4 separate regions of the Homo sapiens genome follow, and regions 1, 3 and 4 are each linked to region 2. The links are contacts of gene promoters, found by promoter capture Hi-C in blood cells and fetal thymus (Javierre and others, 2016). All regions are on one chromosome and are shown on one strand. The core of a region is centred on a gene start or on the middle of the fragment in contact, and the rest is flanking DNA. Distances in the headings are between cores, read along the strand shown. Region 1 overlaps PPP1R1C (protein phosphatase 1 regulatory inhibitor subunit 1C). Region 2 holds the start of ITGA4 (integrin subunit alpha 4). Region 3 has its middle 150 kb from the start of SCHLAP1. Region 4 has its middle 140 kb from the start of PPP1R1C.

Evidence for each region. Contacts are between HindIII fragments. The CHiCAGO score rates a contact against its expected background, and 5 or more counts as called.
Region 1: a contact is called between a fragment that was not itself captured here and the fragment with the promoter of ITGA4 in region 2, in 1 of 17 cell types (fetal thymus). The highest score is 5.4, in fetal thymus.
Region 3: a fragment that was not itself captured here is called in contact with the fragment with the promoter of ITGA4 in region 2 in 4 of 17 cell types (M2 macrophages, M1 macrophages, monocytes and 1 more); the score reaches 8.8 in M2 macrophages.
Region 4: a fragment that was not itself captured here is called in contact with the fragment with the promoter of ITGA4 in region 2 in 1 of 17 cell types (megakaryocytes); the score reaches 5.1 in megakaryocytes.

What each region holds. Positions count from the first base shown.
Region 1 is chr2:182,079,492-182,083,066 of GRCh38, reverse strand. The region is part of intron 4 of PPP1R1C (protein phosphatase 1 regulatory inhibitor subunit 1C); the gene reads right to left. Among named protein-coding and RNA genes, the nearest start is that of PPP1R1C, 95 kb to the right of the region's middle. The HindIII fragment of the contact is 1,198 bases long and covers 1,157-2,354 here.
Region 2 is chr2:181,455,419-181,459,122 of GRCh38, reverse strand. ITGA4 (integrin subunit alpha 4) reads right to left here and starts at 1,737. Exons shown (of 28, transcript NM_000885.6): 1 at 1,272-1,737; 2 at 806-927. The coding sequence starts at 1,468. RefSeq lists enhancers at 691-740, 1,101-1,150, 1,211-1,400, 2,121-2,230 and a silencer at 1,551-1,940. The HindIII fragment of the contact is 9,740 bases long and covers 1-3,704 here.
Region 3 is chr2:180,537,415-180,540,579 of GRCh38, reverse strand. No RefSeq gene overlaps it. Among named protein-coding and RNA genes, the nearest start is that of SCHLAP1, 150 kb to the left of the region's middle. The HindIII fragment of the contact is 1,768 bases long and covers 744-2,511 here.
Region 4 is chr2:182,128,812-182,131,974 of GRCh38, reverse strand. It overlaps a transcript of PPP1R1C not described here. Among named protein-coding and RNA genes, the nearest start is that of PPP1R1C, 140 kb to the right of the region's middle. The HindIII fragment of the contact is 3,467 bases long and covers 1-3,124 here.

The DNA of each region.
Region 1 (3,575 bases), core at 506-3,005, 620 kb before region 2:
TTGACTCTAGGACTCACCTAAGGCCCCTTTAAGAATCTATTATGCTCTGGTCATGTTCCAAGGCTTTTCTGAGTATACATATCTAACAGTGTTCCCAAATATCTGTATTCCAGTTGGGCTGTGTTGATTCTATCCCACCGGGTACCGTGGTCTCCCGCTGGGTATTATTAGACTCCACCAAGTGTTGCAGCTTCCCAACAGGTACCTTTTTGCTCCATAAAGCATTGCTAACTGGAATCCTTCTGTGACCAAGTCAAAGGGTGGTCTGGGGCAACACAGGAAAGGATGCCCTTTCTGCCTGTATGTTATAGTTGATCAGAGAGATCCTCTAGTAATATTACTTAGGTCTTCAATGTTTAACAGTGCTTTTGTTAAAATAGATCAATCTTGAAATTCTTATATTTCTATTGCTGGAATAATCAACATATATTCAGTACTTATTGAGTCTATGTTCTTCCGCGACTCAGATGCAGAGCCAGCGAAGGCAGGGCAGTAAACAAATGCAAGTGACAGAATTGACCCAGTCTTCAGAATCAGGCCTCCTCCATGACCAAGGCTGTCTTACCAGGCCAAGCAGAAACTCAGAAAACCTTGTCCGTTTGACCTTCAGGGTAACTTTCCACCCTTGATTTTATGCCAGACACGTGCACACATGCTTTAGAGACGATGTCCCATGTTTGTCAAACATAATTTGAAACCTGCTTGAAAACCAGGTGAGATATTTTCTTTTGAGAACTTTGAGTCCTGAAAGAAAATATTATCCTAAATGCATCCCCTCTGTTTACCTAAGTTCTATCACTTTAAATGCAAATGACTTCCAATTTCACATGCATGCATTCATCTGTTGCTTTATGAGTTTGTTTCTATTCTTTGCATGGGTGAAGTGAGAATTCCTAACTAGCTCACAAGATTAAGTGTAAAAAATGTCTTTGTGTCCCCTTATGGAAAACAGAGTGGTAGATAAAGGGAAATACAGAATCCTGCTCAAATCTCATTATGTTGGTGTCTGCTTTGTCAAAGTAATAGCTTTTGTTTATTTCTTTAAGCTTCAGGAATAAAAAAGACCTTTTTTTAAAAAAAATAGGCATAGGGAGGTATGTAGTCAGAACTTGGTATTTGCTTTCCCATTAACTACAAAGTTTCTGCACATGAAGCTTTTCTCCCTGATATTTATGACTTTTTATGTGGACATACGGAATTGGTAATATGCAGGATAAACAAATCTATATCCATAGTGAAATGGGCACAGCCTTTTATGCAGGCAGGATATGAGGTGTACGTGATGAGTGGTTGAAGTGGCTTTTCAACCGCACACATTAGACATAGTTAATGTAATTCCTGCTAAGTGCAGGAGTTTTTATTATGACATATTTTAATATGACACAATACTTTTTTTTTACAAAATGCATCCAGAAGTTATCGAAGTTCATTTGTAAGTTAACTCTGATAGCTGTATTTTAGAATTAAGTTTCTCTCATTTGCTTTACTAAATGATCACTTTTATCTGATCAATGCTTTTCAGAATCAACACTCAATAGGTGCTGAATATATGTTGATTAATCTAGCAAAAGAAATATAAGGATTTCAAATTTTCTATCACAATTTTCTACTCTTCTCTGTTTAGCTACTTTCTATAACTACTGCAACTGCAATGTATTGAATCTTCTCTTTGAAAGAAGACTGAAAAGAGGTTAAGGCACTCATTTGTATTCACCCGGAAACTGAAACTTGAAAAAAAATTATACAATACTGATAGCCGCTATTTGTTGAATGCTTACTGTGTGCTTTTTCTCGTTCCCTTTAACCCCCTTTTGTATAAATATGGACACCAGTTGGCACTATGCTCAGAAAGAGTATACTACTTACCTCTCCATTTGCCCAATAGCAGCTAAAGATGTAGAAACCAAATTCTTCCCAACAACTGCACACACTGAGCACAAACCTCACTCTCTTGTTAAAATGCAATCAAACCTGGAAATATGCTTTAAATGAAGTTAATCATCAAATGAAGTAGCAACCAAATAAGTGTAAGAGTTTTAAAGAGTTTATGTCAATATGATGCTAAAATTATATCTAATGACTAGTATTTCTTGACCATGGATGAGGGGCATAGTACTATGCTGAAGCATTTTACATACAGTTTTTTCATTTCATTTTTACGAAAACCTTATGAGTATGTACCTTTATGATTAGGGAATTTAAATAACTTTCTCAAGGTCATATTTTACCAATAAGAAAACTGAGGCCAGAGCTATAAAATGGCTGAACATAATCAATGCATATTAAAATGGCTTTATTTAAATGTTGTGGGTTAGAAGCAGTTAATATTTTCCTTTTTTTTTCCCCTTAAAGCTTCTCCTTTTCTGCAATGAGTCAGCTTGTATGCAGGGCCACTAAATAAGGCCAACTTACTGGATATTTCATATTTCTCATTGTCATTAAATAGACATATAGTCTGAATTAGAGGAAATATAGTTCTGTTTCTATCTGAAATATGTGTGAATGTGTATTACGTGATGTATTGTGTTACGGTATTACTCTGCTTTTTATCTGGGTGAATGTTAAAGAAAGCCTGACCTGGAAAAGGAGAAATGAGAATATAACAAGTGAACTTCTCTCAAGATCCACTCTACAGGACCAAAAGGTTGATTAGTTATGGCAACAAAGAAGACGAAGTCGTTATAAATGATGTTGAGGCTTTGAATCTGAGCAAATGGGGGATAGTGATACCATTTACAGGAATTGGAGGATCCCCTGGTTTTCGTTTGGGGATGAACATAAAGGCAGTTTTAGATGGCTTAAGTTTAAGATAGAGCAGACTATTGGGGGATGTGCTGTCGAGAAGATATGCAATGGGAAATCTGTAACTTAGGTGAAACTGGAAATGGCTTGAACTATGCATGGCATTTTAGAAGTCACCTTAACTAAAACTTCTGCAACAGGCATTGTTCTAGTGCTTTATGTATAGCAACCTATTTAATCCTCAAAACCAGTGAGGTATGTATTGGGTTGAATAGTGTCCTCCAAAAATTCATGTCCACTTGGAACATCAGAATGTGACCTTATTTGAAAATAAGGCCTTTGCAGATGTAATTAAAATGAGGCTCGACAGGATGAAGTAGCCAATATTCTAAATCCAATAACTGATGTACTTACAAGAAGAGGAAACAACACACAGAGACACAGAAGAGCAGGCCACGGGAAGAGTGAGACAGAAACGAGTTCCACTCCCAGAAACACCTGAGGACTTGCTGAAGAACACCTGGGGCCACCAGAAACTGGAAGAGGCAAGGAAGGAATCTTCCCTACAGCCTTCAGTGGGAGCATGGCCCTACTGATACCTTGGTTTTTAGACATCTAGCTTCACCAACTGTGAGAGGAAACATTTCTTTTGTGTTAAGTACCAAGTTTGTGGGAATCTATTAAGGCAGTCCTTGAAAACTGATACAAAGTGCACACTTTTATTACCTCCATTTTAGAAGCAAAGAAAATGAAGCACAGATGAGGCATCCAACCCACTCTCTCAAGGTCAGACAGTTAAATGGAACTAGAATTCAAACTGAGATTCTCAGGCT
Region 2 (3,704 bases), core at 488-2,987:
TGCTTTAAGGGGAAAAAAGTTAAGCAATATATATAGCAGTAACACTTTGGAACAAGATAGGTCTTGTTATTTAATATTCCTTCCTCTTTCCCCACTTGCCTGTGTGCAACAAACTTGTCTTTGGCTTTGAAACATGAAACTTCTCCCCTCTATCAGTACACATTTTTCAACTTGTCACAAATCTGAGACATTGAGAAATGACTGCAAAAAGATGGACCCATATAACATGAGTTTTGGATGACGGTTTTGGGAATGGAAAATTATACTACATTAACGATGAAGATGCCAATTTTCCTTTTCTTTTAGATTGTATATTGTAAGTAAAACTATCACTTTTTTTTTTAGGCCTTTAGGTTAAACGACGGGATATGGGATCAATTCCAATTGCTATTCCTGATATGCTCCTTAGCCTGTTCTTTAAGAGGGTTGATAGGTCAAAGATGGAAATAAAATTCTCAAGTCTTGGCTTAGCTGGATCCTGTCCTTAATACGCTGAGAGAGTCTAAAATGTGCTTTACACACGGAGAGACGGGGAGAGATGAAGAGAAGGTATCATAAGAAATTTCTCTAGCATAGTTGTCAGAGTACTGCAATCATTGCCATAAGGAAAAGGGAGAACGATATTAACAGAAAGGGAATCCCTTTTATATTAAGGAGGCAAGATGAGATGGAGTTGAAACTGAAAACTTTATGCTCTTTAAACCAGAAGTAACAGGCAACGTGAATCTTTCCAGGACTTGCCCTATGGTGGGGTCCACATGGGGGGTCGGGAGGTCACTAACTCCTGGTCCCATACCCAACTCACCCAGCTGGAGCTGTTCGCACGTCTGGCCGGGATTCTTTCCGATCCTGCATCTGTAAATCGCCCCGGGATTGATCACTGAAGCGTTGGCGAGCCAGTTGGCAGTGGGCGCACCCACTAGGAGCCTAAAGCGAGACACGTGCACGTGCGCTCAGACGTGAGCTGTGCTGCCCACTGAGCTCCCTGTCGCCACAGATGTGCAGTCCGCAGCAGGGCAGCTTCCCCACCTCCTCCTCCGCCCACCACCCCCGACTCGAAGCTCCAAGACCTTGCACCATAACGCACCCGGGGCGCTGCCGCCCCAAGATAAGTTAGTTTCCCTGGCAGATTTCCAGCGAGCTGGCTCTCGCAGCGTTTCCCTCCTGCCTCCTTGGGAGGGAGGAAAGTTTGAATCGGGCAGGGAATCCCTAGGGCGCCATTCTCACGCCGCTCTGAGCTGCTGAGGGCGCATCAGTCCAACTCTACTCACCATCGGTTCGCCCCGTGGCTGTGCAGCACGACCGAGTAGCCGAACAGCGTGTTGTGGGGGCCCTGGTAAAGCAGCGCGCTCTCAGTGTCCACGTTGTAGGGGCGGCCGGTCGGGACCCCCAGGCACAGCAACAGCATCACCGTCTCCCGGACGGCGGCCCTTCGGGGGCCGGGTTCGCGCCTCGCTTCCCAAGCCATGCGCTCTCGGTGGGGAACATTCAACACTAAACGGCCACTACCCCAAAGTTGCACGGGATGCGACGGTTGGCCAACGGGGAAGAACGCCCCAAGAGATGAGGCGCAGCGTGTCCGGCGCCAGCGGGCTAAAGGAAGGAGAGAGGGAAGAGGAGGGGAAGTCGGCCCACCGCGGGCGGAGCGTTCGGGCCGGCCTGGGATGCCGCGCACTCGCCCGGCCCCACTCCCGGTTTCTGCCGCCAGCCGGGAGCTTCGGGTGCTCGCGCTGCTTCTCCGGGTACGGGCCGCTGGGTGGGGTCCCGGGCGTGGTGCGGAGGCGCAGGGCCGGGCTCCGTCTCTGCCTACGCGCGGCTGCAGGGGGCGCTGGGGAACCTCGGCTGCGCAGGACTCGCGTCCTGGCCCGGGCCTCCCAGCCCGCAGAGCGCGGGATGGCTCTGGGCTCAGCAAGAGCGGACCTGATGGGGCACGGGCTTCCCCTTTTAACGGTGGTTGGGGCCTAGAAGCGGAGCTGTGTGACCCCAAACTGCGCGCCCCTCGCTGTGACCGCCCAGCCCGGCGTGGCCCAAATGCCAGCCACAAACTCGGGGAGTGGGACTGCGGCGGGGAGCCGTCCAGTTCTTTCGTTGATAGTTAAACACTGTGTCTTGTTTTTCAGGTGTAGGCAACCACTAGATAAATTATCAAGAGCCACAGATTAAAAACAAAAAACCAAACAAAAAGACTCGCCGAAGGCCCCTGGGGAACATTTTAGTGACAAAGACGTTATGGCTATTCTCTTCAAGACCCACATCTCAGCACCCTTCTATACCCACTTCCTTCCTCCCCACACTTCCTCTGCAGCCCGGGCTGCATGCGTGAGCAGGCTAGCAGCAGCCTCTCAGGCTGAACGGCAGGCGGTTTAGGCTGTGGCTGACCCCAACAGAGAGGTTGGGTTAAGGAAGCACTGTGACTTGATTCACTTTAACCGATTCGGATTGCTCCAGCTGGTAATTGATGATCCCCCCTTTTCACGCACCCACTCAGTTGCCACGGGACACACCTGCTTTTAGGGGTGTAAACCCCAGTGTGGGGTCAGGGTCCTAATGAGCCTCTGAAATGTGCCGGAGACCCACAACGCAACACACCTGAACTGGGTAGTGAGTCTCATTCTAATGCAATCCAGGTGTGCCCTGCCTTTTTTTTTTTTTTCCTTCAGCAACCAGAGAGACAGCCATAGGTGATTATTAGACTGATATTTTCAGGAGATGAAAGTCTAGTTTTTTATTGTTGCTATATGTAAAAAGAAAAGAAAAGTCTGCATCAAAGAGTGTGTCTGTGTGCTAAAACCATGCTGGAATAAATAACACATCTGACACTAATGACAGATACACAATTAAAATGCTTATTCATTTATTCAGCACATTCATGGAGCAGGCACTTGACTAGGACCACAGGATTCCACCAAGAGTAAGGCAGGACTGATACAAAGTTTCAAAAAATGTTCGCTCCAATGGTAGATAGAAAAATTTGTACTAACTAGAGAAAGATCCAGGTAAGGACACTTAAAGAGAGATTTGAAGGACCAGGAATCTTGAATCAGGCTAAGAATGGGATGAGCAATAAGGAGGGCTCCAGAGGAGCCAGGTAGAAGAACTGAGAGAGCTTGCCTGGCTAGAGTATTTAGCCACTCCACACACAGGTTGGTGTGATATGAGGCTGACTTAGGGAAGCAGGAATACATGGTGAACCTCATGAGCCAGGTTAGGAATTTTAAATCTATGTTGGGACTGACAGGAAGTTGAAGAATTTGTCTCGGTCAGCTCTGGGTTTCAGAAGTGTGAATGCAAGACTGAACACAGAAAACCTAATTTTGGAAGCCCCTGCAGCAATAAGTAGAGATAGGATAATCCCAAGGGGAAGTATTTCTCTTTCTTGAAAGAGAATGGTGCTACCATTCATGGAGAAAAAAACACTGAGAAATGAAGTTATATGCATGTATGTGTGCATGCAGATGGGGGCATGGATGGGTTAAGTTTTAGCCATGTGGAGTTTGAGATGTTTATGGAATGACAGGATATTCTAGCCAAACTCAATGCAATTATTTTCAGTCTGTCAACAGACAAAACATGAGGAATATTAACTTTCTCTTACTCTATACTGGAAAAAGTCAATACAGTGTGTGATAAATCTATTGTAAAAATGAAATGGCTTCCAGAAAGCTAACAATCAGGGCCCATGGCTGTTTCTTTCTGTAGTAGTG
Region 3 (3,165 bases), core at 378-2,877, 920 kb after region 2:
ATTAGAATGAGATCACATTTTTAATTTTTGTTTTTTCAAGCTGGATACCATGGAGCGAGGGAAGGAAGGAGGTCAGGTCTATCTACACTTTACACATTTTCCAAGAGTAGGGGTCAACATCAGGAGAAAAATAAGAAGCAGCAAACTTATTTTCTGGAGCAGTGTAACATGCTGCTCTCCTGGTATTCCTACCTGTATAATTTCCCTTGTTACACTGACTGCTGAATAGGAAAGCTTGCTTTTTCACCACTGCTCTGATGTGACACTGGAAGTCTAGACAATTAACTCATTTATTAAACTGACACCATAAAGTAAATCATTAAAATATAGCACTACACATTCAGGATATGGTCCCAAACACAGATGAAAACTAAGATCTTTTAAAATGAGGTAGTATTTACTTTTTAAGTGAGGCGACATGTGAATTATTATTGGTTAATATTTATGAAGGCCAACAGTGTGCTGGGTATTGTATATCACCCTGAGCAAACAGTTGTTTATATCGTTTACATAGTTGTGTGTGTGTGTGTGTGTATGTGTGTATACCTGGTATCCTATAATAGGGTCATATGGCATATGGGAGAATGGATCATATCTCAGAAAAAGCAGATGAACATTATCAATCATAACTAATTTATATTCTTCATTTCTACCAGCTGAGGTTTCATTTTTTATATATATTAACATTTCTATTATACATCAATGCTTACAAAAATTATGACTGCTTGAAAAAGAGTTAAGCTTTCATTGTCCAACTGTAAGTTGCCCTAAAGTGGAACTTCCTTTTTTTGATATGTGAAGTACTCTATTTTTATTGAGGTTGTAAGTTGTTGGTGTTGAGCAATCTATAGTAAAGAGGAACAGTAGCTATGTGAGACACAATATTGCTCAAAAATATGTTAAGTTGAACAAAATTTTTAAAAATAAACCAATAAACCATGTGTCAAGAGCTGTGCTAGGTACTTTCTCAGATGATTTGCCTGTATAATTTATTCCACCTTAGAAAGACCATATTAAAAATAATGATCATAGTTTTCAATATTAAAGATCAGCGATTACAAAGAGAGAAATAGTACTGGATGGAATGGATTAAAAACTGATTGCACAAATGCACCAACAAGGTTTTTCTAAATAAAAAAGAGCCCCTTTCAACTGCTTTTCTTATGCCATTCCATGGAAAATTAGTTTTGCGAAGAACAAAATAATAACAGAGTCTCAGTTCATTTGTTCTGATGCCTAACTTTTAAAAGTTCTTAGGAATCAAGCTATCTGCAATAAGGATGGTTGAATTTCTATAATTTAAGGTACATATGAGATAAACATTCTCAAGCTCAGGTGCTTATAACTTTTTTTTATAGTTCAACAGCTTCCCCATGTACTAATTGATTCACAAGACATTTCTATTACTTCCACAGCTGGGGCTAGATATAATCAAGAAGAACTGTGGCACCCAGAAATAAACAAAAGATAATGGAACTTTTGCTGAGCCACAAAGAGTATTTTTAGTGTTTGGCTAAGGGTTCAATTTCACACTTGAGAACTTTCTAGTATGTCCCCTTTTTCACTGGTTTGTACCACTCACACTTCAAGGAGAGATGGAAGAAACTAAGTCAAGCCGACAGGAGCCATGTCTTTCAAGCAAGAAATACAGCTGCCAGAGAACACAAATGCGGACTTTACATAAGCGTAAAGCCAGCAGGGTGTCTGAGGACATCAAATTTCATTGCTTTTGTCTGTTTACTACAAGATGTAAAAACAGTCATTTGCCACCGGGGAGATGTTTCATGAATTGAATGTTATAATTTCATAATCAGATACTATGACTTTAGGGGACTAAATGAACTTTTCAGGAAGATTATTTTTTTTCATCCTGTGTTCCTAGAACAGGTTCTAGTTGTCTTTCAATAAGTGAATGTTAATTGCTTAAGTAGCTCCTGTTAGTCCTTTCTGGCCTCAACAAAGAACATTAGGAGTTCTCTGTTTCTCTCTGTCTCTGTCTTGCAAAACAGGTGTTTCTTCTCCTATCATTTCATAACTTCCCTATACGAGTTCTTTATTTTTGTTTATTTTTCAATTGTTTGGAATATAAGACACAACCACTTTTAGGAAGCATGCTTGAGTTGTATAATTCATAAATGGTTGTATATTTAAAATGTCTTTTTGTTGTCTTGGCTCGCGAACTTAATCTCATGAATGATAACTTGACTGGGCATAGAAGTTATTGAATTATACTTTTATTCTCTTTCCAAATAATTACACACTGCTCCACTTATATTGGCATCTAATATTCCAAGATTATTGTACCTTTTCCCACTTTGTAGGTGACATATTTCTTCTTTACAGATGCATTCAAGCTCCTTTCCTTAATAAAATATTTGAATAAGAAAAAGTCATTAGTTTGTATCCTAATGTGGATCTTTTTCCTTTATAAAGATAAATGAAATGGAAAACACTGTGATGTTCAAGACAGATTCAATGAACCAAATGTTGATATGCAACACAAACTAAGCTTCAGTGGTTTTATTATAATCTCACTCAGACTCACAGGCTGCAAGAGAAGACCTCAAACTGAACTGGCAGTAATAATGCCACACTCAACGTGTTCTGGAGATTGGACAGCTGACAGTCCAGCAACTAGTCCGGCCTAGTTCATGAATTTTGTTCACTCCCTATTCAGATCTTGCTTACGATCTTATGCCCTAAAATAATCTTAGGATGTACCCTAGCCTACAAAATCCTCTAAGTATCTTTTCTTAACATTTTACATTGGAGACTGTGTCAAGGTGGTGCCCTCCCTTACACATCTATTTCAGAGACTGGGTCTTGCATGATCAATAGGTATTCCCCTATGTTCTTTGGATGTGGGCTTCAACAGAAATTATCTTCGGGATACAGTTTGCCCTTTATATCTGAAAACCCATGCTTCTTTTTAAAATTTCACAAAATTTCTGTTCTATTATATGTTTGAATATTTTTATTTCTTTTTTTGTCCTATTTTCTTCATGAAGCATACCAATTATGCTTCTGAACCTCCATTATTATTTTCATAACTGGCATCTTCTCACTCTTTGCTCTTATTTCTTTGTCTACCTTTTTAAAAACTATTTGTGCTATTTCATTTGTTTTTCTTTTTCCTCTGGTTTTCTGCAGTATTGATTTTGTTCT
Region 4 (3,163 bases), core at 142-2,641, 670 kb before region 2:
TTGTGAGGACCTCCTCACCTCTGTTACTGTGTCCAGTTTACTCTGGATGTCCTCCTCTGTTCTCACCTGGCTTCTCCCTAACAGACAAGAATATGGAAATTATAACTTTGGGAGGTATTTGTTTAGTAAAGTGTTTTTCTGTTTTTGTTTTGTTTTGTTTTGAGATGGAGTCTCGCTCTGTCACCCAGGCTGGAGTGCAGTGGCGCGATATCGGCTCACTGCAACCTCCAACTCCAGGGACAGTGACTGCAACCTCCAGCTCTGCCAGGGACAGTCACCCCAGGATCTCCAGCTTCCCTAGGCCCTGCTAGCCACCCTGGGGACTAATAATTCTCCTGCCTCAGCCTCCTGAGTAGCTGGGACTAAAGGCACATGCCACCATGCCCGGCTAATTTTTGTGTTTTTAGTAGAGACAGGGTTTCACCATGTGGCCAGGCTATTCTCAAACACCTGACCTCAAGTGATCTGCCAGCCTTGGCCTCACAAAGTGCTGGGATTACAGGCTTGAGCCACTGCACCTGGCCCTTTAGTAAAGTTTTATTTCTCTGTGCTTAATTTAATAGAAATCAGGTTAAATTTCTTCTCTATCTTTCCTTTAGAAACCTTCTTTTTTATTTCCATACAGCAAAACATTTTATGAATATACATATATACATATTTAGTGTACATTTTATATATATGTGTATATATACATATTTTGCATACACATACATGTGTATATAGAAATGTATACAAGCACATATATAAATTATAGACACAAACACACACACACACTGCTCAATAGAAAAAAAATTTAACTCCACATTGCACAATGAAAGAAAACAAGGAGATTAATTTTGGCAACTGTATTTTCCCCAGAATATTGCATTAAATTATCTTCTACAGATATAGTTGTGGGTGTTTATGATGACAATGTCTATTTTTTAACACTGTTCTGCCAATACGACAAAAAACTTACTTTGAAAAATCTTATTTAGGTACTAACCAGTTCCAATTAACTCCTTCCTATATATTCCATTTATTCTGACAATAAAAGTGTGTAGCTCGAGCTTGTTATCATAGGCAAGTCCAGGATTTAGTAGTATCATTCCTGTCTTAGAATTGACCTTCATGTCATTTTAATTTTTAAACTATTGGGTGTTCTCAAAAGCAAATAAAGGACCAATGTAATATTTAAAACACTTGACAAATGTAACAAACAAGTGACAAATTCAAAACAGAAAAATCTATGTTTCATTAGGGTAAAAGAAGAGAGCAACATATAATTAGTCTGCTTAGGAAAACACATCCACAGAATATATGCTGCAGGAGAAATGTAACAGGAGACTCACTCATCTACTGCAAGGCTTTGAAAAATGTTGGTATCTGTAAACAATAAAGAAAGAAAAGATATTCTTCTCTAATTATTAAAGAGATGTTCAACCATCTGCAAACTATTTTTTTAAGTTCTTGTTGTTCCCTTCCTTTGATTCATGCAAAGCCATGTTGTACCTTTGCTACTTTTGAGAATAATGGGACTTTGAAGTCAATTAAACTCATTCCTCAGCTTGAAGGGAGCAGCAGGTAGAATGTTGTCTTTGGCTCCTCATTAAGTAGTATATTGTTCCTTTCAATGATCTAATATCTACAGCATAATCCACAATTCCGCAGGTAGGTCTGGGTGATTATGCTTTTTCATATTTTATTTCTTTGGCAATACAAAGTCTAAGAGTAGGAAGTAAAAGTTAGTACTTAAATCCTGGGGCAAGTAGGGAGGATAATAATAATGAACAATTTGTGAAATTATTTTTATTTTTATTTTGCAACTTATGAGAAATCAAGAAAGGGAAACAAATTAAAGATTGATGCCTTGTTCTTTAAGAAAAGGTTATACCTAAGATTGTCATAAACTCAGCAATTCTCTCATTTTACATGATAAAGGTTATTTTTAAAATATAGATTTAGACATAGGAAACATTTTTAAATGAACCATGTACTTTTTTTATTAAAGTTTCAAATTTACTTCTTTTATTTCTTATAAGTCATCTTAGTTTGAAGTCAATGCCCAAGAATTAAAGTAGAACTCAGGGTTTTCTTCCCAGCTTAGCCTCATTAGCAAAAGTATCTGCCTATGCTTTATGTCTGAATTGGAGGAAGTTTAGCTCTAAGTCAATATATAAGACAGTATAAGAAAGAATAAAAGTCTATGGCTCCTAAGGAGGATAGGCTTTTTTATTCTAAAATCTATCACAACTCAAACAGGTCAGAAGCTAGTTAGTGGAAGCGTTTGTTGGATTATTGGTTCATTTGGGGACACTTATTTTCTTTGGACTCTAGTTTTCTTATCTATAACATAAATCCTACCTGTCATACATAATTAATGTGATTATTAACAGAAATATAGGTGAAGCCACTTAATTAATTATAAATAATTGAATAAATCTTTACTAGCAGGATGGCAATAACAATAAAATAGCCTTTTTATTTTTATAAGTCTGCTGCATAATTCAGTAGTTGGCAGGTAGTAGACTATCAGTAAAATCTGTGGAACTAAATTAAATCAAGACCAATGGAATTTGAAAAAGAAACAAGGCAATAAATAAACACAGTGGAATTTGAAAAAGAAACAAAAAAATGTTTTTGAAAGACTCCCTGTTGTAAGAGAAGGCTCAGATTCCAGAATTAGAAAAACTAAAAATGAATCACTTAAAATGTACCTAAACTCAAGATCCCTTTTTTAGTTGTAGAGAGGAATAAACTAAAACCAAAGGGAAGGACTTGGCAAATGGTGTAATAAAAATTATTAGAAAAAAGCAATAAGTGAAGAAACAGCTTCTGAAAAACATGTCAATACTTATGTATAAAATATCTAAAGTGCTTCAGGAGGTAATCCAGTAGAAAGCAACGTGGCATCATGATGGAATCGGAGGTGGTGTTTGTTTTGTGTTGGGATTTTTCCAAGCTCGAGTAGAAGCACAGCACTAACAAGTCAACTTCTGGTTGTTATCAACTCATTTTGCACCTGGAGGAGAAAAAGAAAATACTTCAGAACACAGTGGAAACTTTCCAGAGGATTTAATACCATGTCATGTAAATCTCTGTAAAGGGAAAAATCTGGTATGCAGCACTTAGTAGCAACAAAGCTTGTATGCTAGGATAGAGTCAATTATCCAATTAGTGATTT